Regions from separate parts of the Homo sapiens genome. Here region 1 is linked to region 2. Evidence: promoter capture Hi-C in human tissues and cell types (Jung and others, 2019). All regions are on one chromosome and are shown on one strand. Each heading gives the region's core, a stretch centred on a gene start or on the middle of the fragment in contact. The rest is flanking DNA. Distances are from core to core; before and after follow the strand shown. Region 1 has its middle 3.5 kb from the start of ADIPOQ. Region 2 holds the start of MASP1 (MBL associated serine protease 1).

Region 1 (4,977 bases), core at 174-2,673, 450 kb before region 2:
TTTTTTTTTTTTTTTTTTTGAGATGGAGTTTCACTCTGTCGCCCAGGCTGGAGTGCAGTGGCGTGATCTCGGCTCACTGCAACCTCCGCCTCCCAGGTTCAAGCAATTCTCCTGCCTCAGCCTCCCAAGTAGCTGGGATTACAGGCATGCACCACCACACCTGGGTAGTTTTTCTATTTTTAGTAGAGACAGAGTTTCACCATGTTGGCCAGGCTGGTCTCGAACTCCCGGCCTCAGGTGATTTGCCCGCCATGGCCTCCCAAAGTGATGGGATTACAGGCATGTGCCACCGAGCCTGGCTATATGGACATAGTTTTTAGTTCTTTGGGATAAATGCCCAGAAGTGTTACTGCTATTTAATCTTTAAAGAAACTGCCAAACTACTTTTCAGAGTGGCTGCATTATTTTCCATTCCCACCAGCAAAGTATGAGTAATCTATTTTTACGCATTCTTTCCCAAATTTAGTATTTTCACTTTTTTTTTTTTTTTTTTTTTTTTTTTTTTTTTTTTTTTTTTGAGGCAGGGTCTTGCTCAGTTGCCTAGGCTGGAGTGTAGTGGCACTATCTCGGCTCACTGCAACCCCTGCCTCCCAGGCTTAAGCGATCCTCACATCTCAGCAACCTGAGTAGCTGGGGCTACAGGTGAGTGCTACCACTCATGGGTAATTTTTTTTGTATTCTTAGTAGAGGTGGAGTTCCGCCATGTTGCCCAGGCTGGTCTCAAACTCCTGACCTCAAGCGATCCACCTGCCTCTGCCTCCCAAAGTGCTGGGGTTACAGGCGTGCACCACTGTGCCTGGCCATTCTCACTATTTTTAATTCAAAATAGTTTGTGTTCTCTATTCTCCACATCTTTTTGTTCTTTTTAATCATCTAAAGTCCATAGTTTGTATTAGGATTAACTTACTGTTGTACATTCTCTCTCTCTCTCTCTTTTTTTTTTAATGAGATGGAGTTTCTCTCTTTTTTGCCCAGGCCAAGCGCAATGGCACAATCTCGGCTCACTACAACCTTTGCCTCCTGGGTTCAAGTGATTCTCCTGCCTCAGCCTCCCAAGTAGCTGGGATTACAAGTGCGTGCCACCACACCTGGCCAATTTTGTATTTTTAGTAGAGATGGGGTTTCACCATGTTGGCCGGGCTGGTCTCCAACTCCTGACCTCAGCTGATCTGCCTGCCTCAGCCTCCCAAAGTGCTGTAATTATAGGCATAAGCCACTGTGCCTGGCCTAGTGTTGTACATTCTGTGGGTTTTGACAATTGTATGCATCTACATGTATGTACCATTATAGTATTCCTGTTTTTAATTTTAGCCATTCTAGTAGGCATGTAGTGATATCTCATGGTGATTTTAATTTGCGTTTCCGTAATGGTTAATAATGCTGAACATCTTTGCATGTGCTTGTTTGTCATTTGTGTTTCCTACTTGGTGAAATAATTGTTCATGTCCTTTGTCCATTTTCTAATTGAATTTTTTTTTACCATTTAGTTTTGAGATTTCTTTATACAATCTAGATCCAAATCTCTTGTCTCAAATATGGTTTGCAAATACATTCCTCTAATTCATATATTGCCTTTTCCTCCTCTTAACAGGATGTTTCACAGAGCAAAAGTTTTAGTTTTGTTGAAATCTCACTTTTCATTTTTTTCTTTAGTGGATTGTGCTTTTGTTGTCATATGTAAGAACTCTTCACTGGCCCTAGATCCTTGTATTGGTTTCCTAAGATTGCCATAGCAAATCACCATGAACTTAGTGACAAAAAGACAGAAATTTATTTTCACTTCCTACTGTGGGCAGACTAGACGTTAATTATTTTCATGTATGCTCATTCCTATGACATCTTTCTGATATAATAATTATAGTTATTCTTAAGCTTCACCCTTTTTTCTATTAGCTTTGTTACCTTGGGTGTCACTTTTTCTTTTTTGACATTGTGACCTATGCCAGATCATGTCTGTTAGTACTTAGCCCTCCATTCACCTCTCCATAATCCCTTTTGTATTCCTGGAGCTTGATGCCTGAAATGACACATCCTACATTCCTTTGCCAGATGGGTACCAGTTAGCTTGTGCACATGGGAGACAACCGTGAAAAGACTGAAGTGGGGAAGAAGGGAGGAGCTGTTGTGTTTCAGTGAGCGCCCTTGGCAGTGGCGGTGACAGTGGCTCCTGTTCAGTGGCAATGGTGGAGCAGCTAGCAAGACATGCAGTAAGCGCAGGCTCATAGGCTATGGTCCAGGAGCAGTCACCGATTCCTGGTCTTTAGGCAATATCATCTCCCTTTGCTTCTCCAGCCTTTCTAAAATTATTGTACCTTGACTAGTACAATTTTTTAGTATTGGGGGTAGTCCAAGGACACAGGCTTTAAAAAGTATGAATTCAGGGTTGCCTACCTGCATTGACTGCGCTTGAATCATGATGGCCTTCTGGTCGGTGGCAGGAGGTGACAGTCCAAATCATGCAGTAGCAAACCAGATACTTAAATTATCATCTGAGATACTTCAGAAGTACAGCCGTAGCCATACCTTCAGAAGAGATAAAGAAATGTTCTCCTGGCCAGGCGCGGTGGCTCACGCCTGTCATTCCAGCACTTTGGGAGGCCGAGGGGGTGGATCACCTGAGGTCGGGAGTTCGAGACCAGCCTGACCAACATGGGGAAACCCTGTCTCTACTAAAAATACAAAATTAGCGGGGCGTGGTGGCACATGCCCATAATCCCAGCTACTCGGGAGGCTAAGGCAGGATAATCGCTTGAACCTGAGAGGCAGAGGTTGCGGTGAACTGAGATCATGCCATAGTACTCCAGCCTGGGCAACAAGAGTGAAACTCCATCTCAAAAAAAAAAAAAAAGAAAAAAAGATAAAGAAATGTTCTCCTTTCTTGCCATTTCTAGGGGTTTGGGGATGGCGTACATTGCTGCAGGGCGTGCTCACTCTACCATCTTGCTCCAATCTTTATTTTTCAAAATACAGTGCTTATGCTTGGTTACTTCAGTTAAGATTATTTTTAAAAATCATAATTAAGCAAAAATATATGGCCATGCTTAAACATATTTAAGATAAATTAAGTGATTTGGCCTGTTTCAGTATCCCAACTCACATGCTAACAGGGGCTTGACCTGTAGCTACGGTACCCTGGAGGAAATGATCGCATTTATTTGGTTATTTCGGTCTAAGTAGTAATAGTTCTGTCCTGGGAAAAAGACTAGCCTCAAGGCATTTCTGATTGAATGTTTTTCAATTACAGTCTTTAAACCAGTATGCCACAGAACTGGCTCTTTCCACATGACGGCCTTTGTGGTGGGTGGCAGATTGCCCTGAGGCCTCGCAAAATGCTAGGCTTTCACAATGTCACTGACTGACAGCCAGGCCCAGCACAGTCTTGGTGTGATTGTGGGGCTAAAGTTATTCCACCTTGTGCAATAGCTACAGCTTTCTCTAACCAGCTGCATTCTTATAAAGTTAGAAGAAAATACTTTTTTTTTTTTGAGATGGATTCTCGCTCTGTTGCCCAGGCTGGAGTGCAATGGTGCGATCTCGGCTCGCTGCAACCTCCGCCTCCTGGGTTCAAACGATTCTCCTCCCTCAGACCCCCGAGTAGCTGGGATTGCAGGTGCCTGCCACCACGCCCGGCTAACTTTTTTGTATTTTTAGTGGAGACGGGGTTTCACCATCTTCGTCAGGCTGGTCTCAGACTCCTGACCTCAAGTGATCTGCCCGCCTCAGCCTCCCAAAATGCTGGGATTACAGGCATGAGCTACTGTGCCCGGCCAAAGAAAATACTTTTTATGCCAGCCCTGAAACTACCCTGAAGCACATACATCAACCTTGAGGCCTCACACTCCATCAAGAGGGGTGAAGGGCATGAGGAATTAGAAAGCATAGGGATTTTTAGTTAGACAGATCTGGTTCAAATCCTAGACTTGTGCCTTGAACAAATTATTTACCCTCATTGAACTCTAGATTCATTATTTGTAAAATGAAAGACAATAATAGTTATCTCCAAAGGAAAGTTGAATATGATCATTCATTTATTCATTAATTCAACATTTATTATTGCCTACTTTGTGCCAGGTTCTATTCTAGGAACTAAGGGATACAACTTTGAATAGGCAAAATCTCTGCTCTCCTGAAGTTTACTTTTTTTTTTTTTTTTGAGACAGAGTTTCACTCTTGTCACCCAGGCTAGAGCGCAATGGTGCTCTTGGCTCACTGCAACCTCCACCTCCTGGGTTCAAGTGATTCTCTTGTCTCAGCCTCCCAAGTAGCTGGGACTACAGGTATGTGCCACCACGCCCGGCTATTTCTGCATTTTTAGTAGAGATGGGGTTTCACCATGTTGGCCAGACTGGTCTCAAACTCCTGATCTCAGGTGATATGCCTGTCTTGGCCTTCCAAAGTACTGGGATTACAGGCCTGAGCCACTGCACCTGACCTGAAGTTTATGTTCTATTAAATAGCAACAGACAGTAACATAAACCAAAAATAAATAGGAAAACACCATAACAAAAATCAAACAGTGATATAATTGAGAGTTGCTTCTATTTCTTTTTGTTGTCTTCTTGGTTCAATCAGCCTGCTAAACTATATGGAACCTCATTTTCATGGGCCACTTATTTAAGCCGGGGGACCTTGGAAAGTCTCTCATGTCTCTCATCTCAACGGCCTAATGTGACTTCTCTTGAAATATTTGGACATTAGCAGGAAGCTGAGGCTTTACATCAGATCTTTACTTTAATGGTGGACTTGACTTTACTGGTAGATTTTTAGGCTCTGTGTGGACTGTGGAGATGATATCTGGGGGGCAGGCAGACACTTGCCCTGCCTCTGTCTGAGAAAATTCTGTTTTGGATGTCTTGTTGAAGTTGGTGCTGGCATCCTAAGCCCTTGCTGGGGTCGTAATTTAATTCATCAGAATGTGTGGCTTGCAAGAACCGGCTCAGATCCTGCCCTTCAAAAACAAAACATGAGCGTGCCAAG
Region 2 (4,903 bases), core at 207-2,706:
AGCTTGAACAATCAGGTCTTCTAGGTGGAAAATAAAGAAGAAGGTTGCTCCAGGTTGAGGGATGAGCATATGCAAAGATACAGAATTGTTACTCAGCCAAGTAGTTTGATATGGGCTGGGGCACTGAATGGTAGGGTGGGATTCAGACCAGATCATTGACAGATAAATGAGATTATCATTCAATGTAGATTGACATAAATCACTTTTTTTTGGAGAAAGAAAAATGATGTTTAATGGCAGGTTTAAAATTACTATGGCTTTAAGAAGAACAGAATTATTGCACTCACTTTTTAAGGACCTGGTTATCTCTCTGAACCACAGGTAATCGGAGTTCAAAGAGTTAACATAGTCTGAAGCCTCTCATTGGTCTCAGGTCCAGAAAAGTTGCTAGGTTACTTTGCAGAAGAGAAACAAATAAAAACACTTTCCCAAGTGAAAAGAAAATTAATAGTAAAAGATGTGTTTAGGGACTTACACATCTGCAGAGCATTGTGTGTGTGTGTGTGTGTGTGTGTGTGTGTAACAGCATTAACACTTAACTAATAAAAATAACTAGGGTGGTTGGGTTTTCAGACTTGCAGGATAGAACTTGTATGAAAGGTCTGGTAAGGAGTGTCAAGTATAATGAGGAATAAGAAAGGTTAAAGAGTTTAAAACCAATTAGAATTTGAAGTTCTTGATTTCAGAACTCTAAAATCCTTTTTTTTTTTTTAAGTATGATATCTCTTTAAGAGCCATTTGGTGTACTTCATAGCCTGATTCATGCCACCAGCTGCCTCTGATTTCAATGAGAAATGCAGAAAATTTATAGGGAACTGTAAAATGGGGACAGATTTTTAGTTTTCTAAATTGAGGTTTAACTGGCAAACTTGTAAAGGTTGAAGAAACCACAGAGCCAAGCTATGGGAAGCTGGTTTCTTTTCTGGTCAGAAGGAATGAACACACAAACACATATCTAACTCACAAAGTGCTGGAAGAGAGAAAGCAATGCTCTTTCCAGAGGAGGAACACGGAAAAATCAGCCTTGTGGGTGAACAGGAGGAGAGTCACATTCGCCAGCAGGCAGCACCCTGTGCAGGCAGTGGGAGAAATCTGAGCTTCAGCAGCGTCCGGAGCAGGATTTGCACGAAGTCTCCCGTTTCAAGTTTTATGTCTCCTGGAGTCCTGGGGAAGGCACCCAGCCCACCCACAGCTCCCTTCTCAGAGCCCTAAGAATTGATGAGAAAGCCCCTCACTACCACATGCAGGACACGCAGGTGAGTCTGTCAGTGACAAGGTCAGACCTTCCCTGCTATTTGACACTGGTCCCCAAAAGGGAACCGTGCCCTCTCCTCCCCTGGCACGTACCTCATTTTCCTGCCTTGGGTGCTCCCGGCTGCCCGGCCTTGGTCCTCCCAGCTTGACTTGCCTGTGAGCTCGTGCCCGGTGTGGTGTCCGTGATGCCTTATCTTTGTTCTGAGGTCCCTGTGTGTCTCTGGAATTGGCTGGCATTCTCCATTCAGGTCACGCCTTCCCCTGCCTGCAACAGATCCCCTCTCCCCCTCTCTCCCTCTGGCTTTTCCTCTCTCCTCTCTCTCTCCTTTGACTTGCTCTTGCACTCCCAGGAACCTGACAACAAAATCTGTCTTCCTACCGAAAAGATCTGCTCCTTCCCTTCCCTCCTTTATCCTGTGTGGCTGACTTCAGCCCTTGAGAGAAAATAACTGAGGGGCTCAAGCAGGTATTTGTATCACTCTGTGTGTGTGTGTGTGTGTGTGTGTGTGTGTGTAGAGAGAGAGAGAGAGAGAGAGTGAAAGGGGACAAAGTCTAATTTCTCTTTAGTCTTTTTTGCCAGATGACTATAATTTTCTGCTTTTCTTCAGGACACCCATGAAAGAAAAGCAATTAAATAGAAACAACCAACTAAGAAGGCAATTCTAGCACCTACACTAGAAGAAAAAAAAAAGGTCTAAATCCCAGAGCGTCTGTCTGCAAATAACTACAGGTTTCCTTGTGAGCAGAGCCCCAAATAACTACAGGTTTTCTCGTGATCAGAGTCACACACAACGACAGGTTTTCCTGTGAACAGAGCCACGGGCCCGGAACTGGGGAAGCACCAAGTCCTGAAGTTGGCTGGTTGTTCCTCCCCATGAGCAATACCTGTGGCACTGTTTACTTGCTCGGAGTGTGTGCGGCTCTACTCCAGCCCAGAAAGGGCCCATCGCAGCAAGAAATCTCACCTCCCCAGGGGTGTAGAAAGACCTGGGCCTGTATATATGTCTATACCCATGGCTTCCGGAGAAATCAACACTAGATCTAAGATGAGCTGAATAATAAGAAAATTACCCCCTCCACAACAACAACAACCAACACTGAATAGGGAGAGGTGTATCTGGGTGTAAAAGTTAAGTTTGACTGTGCACCTTTTCTGTGTTAGACACAGTACTAGTCATTAACATCATCTCAAGTTACTTTTGCAAACTGGTGAAAGTGCTGCTGTTATACTCATTTTACAAGTGAGGACACTAAGGCTCAGAGAGAATATGCCACTTGCCAAGATCATCCAGTTATTTATGACTCCCCACTGCCACTAGCACTAGAAGCTAACAGCTATTGAGTGCTACGTGTCAGGCACTGCTCTAAGCACTTAATATATGAATTCTTTTCAGTCATCTTTATATGTTGTATACATGGCTGGCAATATTCTCATTTTTCAGAGGAAATTGCCCAGAGAGGTTAAGTAACTTTCCCAAGTTCACACAGCTAGAAAGTAATAGAGGCAGAATTTGAAGTGTTAGCCACTGTATTACACTGCTACTCATTAACATTTTATAATGCATATGGAATTTCAAATGCACACACACAGACGGCATTCATAGAGAAACTCAATCTGAGTCATTTTGAAAAGAAGATTAGACTCAGAGTTTAGCTGTAATCTTTCCTTTCTACCCAAGACAGCTGTGTACTTTGGGCACAATACTTAAGGTATCTGATTCTGTGTCTTCATTTGGAAAATGGGAGTTACTATGAGGCTTAAATAAGACTGTGCTTGTAGAAGTGTCCAGGGGAGTACCAGAGAGAGGGCTGCCAGCCACACTCACCAAAGCGGCAGACACATGCACTGTCTACCCTCAGATAACGTTCCTTTGGCACGTTCTGGGGAACAGTGGCTTGACTCTCACTGTACTTCTTACTCCATTTTCTCTCCAGTTTCTCTAATTTTCACACTTTTGAATGCCAGCCTTGCCAAGCTTGGCATTATCAAGAGGCTGTGGTTGATAAAGCAGGTACAAGTATATGAGATGGGAGGATATGTTTGAACTCAGGCACTGTTTTAGCAAAATGTGTTCTGTCTCAGTCAGCACAGGAAAAAAAGCTTTTAACATTCCCGTTAAGAAGACTCACAGGCTCCGCACACATTAAATAACTCTCACAAAACAACATTTTAATGATTTACGTGTAAATGAATCAGAAACACATGGACGACATTTCTCTTGGAATACACAAGGGTTTTAAAACTGAAGGAGAAAGAGCTTGGCAAAATGCACACTGTGCTGGGAAGAGGGCCCCTGCCCAGTAAAGACATTCCCTCAATTCATGCTGCCACGGAGTTTGCCCTCTCCTAATTTAGGGCATATACTGGGAACTGCAGTCATTTGTTCTGGGTACAGAGGGAAGAGCTTGGGCGAGAAAGCCATCAGCTTCTCCTTGGAAAGTGTCACAGAGCAATTAGGCCTCCTGGAATAATTTTCTAGCCATGTTTCTTCAAGGCTGCCAATGTTCAATGGAAAGCATTCGAGATGTGTTCTAAGCCAAAGTTCTGCCAATATATAGCAGATCTGATATGTGCGCTTCCCTGGGAGTTAGCCAAGGCTCAGAGGAAATCTGCATAAAAACAGGAACTACGTGGCCCAGGAATGATCTGCATGTGATTCAGGACAGTTTTCTACTTGGTTACACTACATATTGTCTGATGCTTTTGATGAATCTCCCTGAAGTGTCACTAAGAGATCATGGGTCATCAGGGGTGGGAGGAATGGAAGGGACATTAGGCTGGAAACAGAACTGGGCTCAGTGACTATAGGCCAGCTTGCATGTGACCTTGGGTAAGTCACTTACTTTCTCAGGGGTGGGGGTTGAGGGGTGGAGGGGTGGGGCATCAGTGTGTTCAATTATGAAATCAGGGGGTGGGACTCAGTTGAGATCATAGATATCAACATGTGGATATGAAGACTATGAAATGATGTCGTTGGGAGGGGGTTAGGTAGTTTGCTAGACCTAAAAGATTGTCAAGGAGTCCAAAATAGCTCTAATAATCTTGACATTGGCTTTTTCTGTGCTCATAATATTACTGATACTAAGAATTTAATCACAGATATTCAGAAAAAGTAATATTTAAAAAGGTTCAACTAGTTTTTTGAGTTTGGCAAAAGCGATTAAAAAATGCATACAAGGAACTGACATCATTTAGAATCATGAAAGCGTAGAATGACTGAGGTGGGCTCAGCACCCGCGCACTATAGTCCTGTAGTCCGGGAAAGGGATCAGAGAGCTGCCTACTAAGGGTAAATGCGGCAATATTCCTACCACTGGAAGAGGTTTTGGTTTACATGTTCTACCAAAGTATTTATTTTATGCAACTTTTGAGCTAGAGCTTCTGGAATTCAATGAATGGGTTAGAAAACGTAAAGAATTTGGGCAATGACTTTTTGTTGGTAAGGGCTGAAATCCAGGCTTCCTACAGAATATTTGAGAAACTGATAAATAGCTCCAAAGATGGCAGCTTAGAATGAAAATCTGGGTTCTTCAGCACATTGACTGACAGCATGCCGAAAGTCCTGGCTTCTGAGTCTATCAACAGAATAATGGGGAAAATATTTTTAAAAAATGACAATCTTTGAGCTTCATCCCAGGAGATTCAAAC

What was found. The method cuts DNA at HindIII sites, captures the fragments that hold promoters and counts their contacts. A contact is called where the count stands out against the background at its distance.
Region 1: a fragment that was not itself captured here is called in contact with the fragment with the promoter of MASP1 in region 2 in 1 of the 25 tissues and cell types used here (mesendoderm cells).

Annotation. Positions count from the first base shown.
Region 1 is chr3:186,836,738-186,841,714 of GRCh38, forward strand. No RefSeq gene overlaps it. Among named protein-coding and RNA genes, the nearest start is that of ADIPOQ, 3.5 kb to the right of the region's middle. RefSeq lists an enhancer at 3,273-3,430. The HindIII fragment of the contact is 4,323 bases long and covers 1-3,585 here.
Region 2 is chr3:187,290,281-187,295,183 of GRCh38, forward strand. MASP1 (MBL associated serine protease 1) reads right to left here and starts at 1,457. Exons shown (of 11, transcript NM_139125.4): 1 at 1,348-1,457. The coding sequence starts at 1,352. LOC101929130 (a long non-coding RNA gene) reads left to right here and starts at 992. Exons shown (of 2, transcript NR_135551.1): 1 at 992-1,256. The HindIII fragment of the contact is 8,732 bases long and covers 1-4,903 here.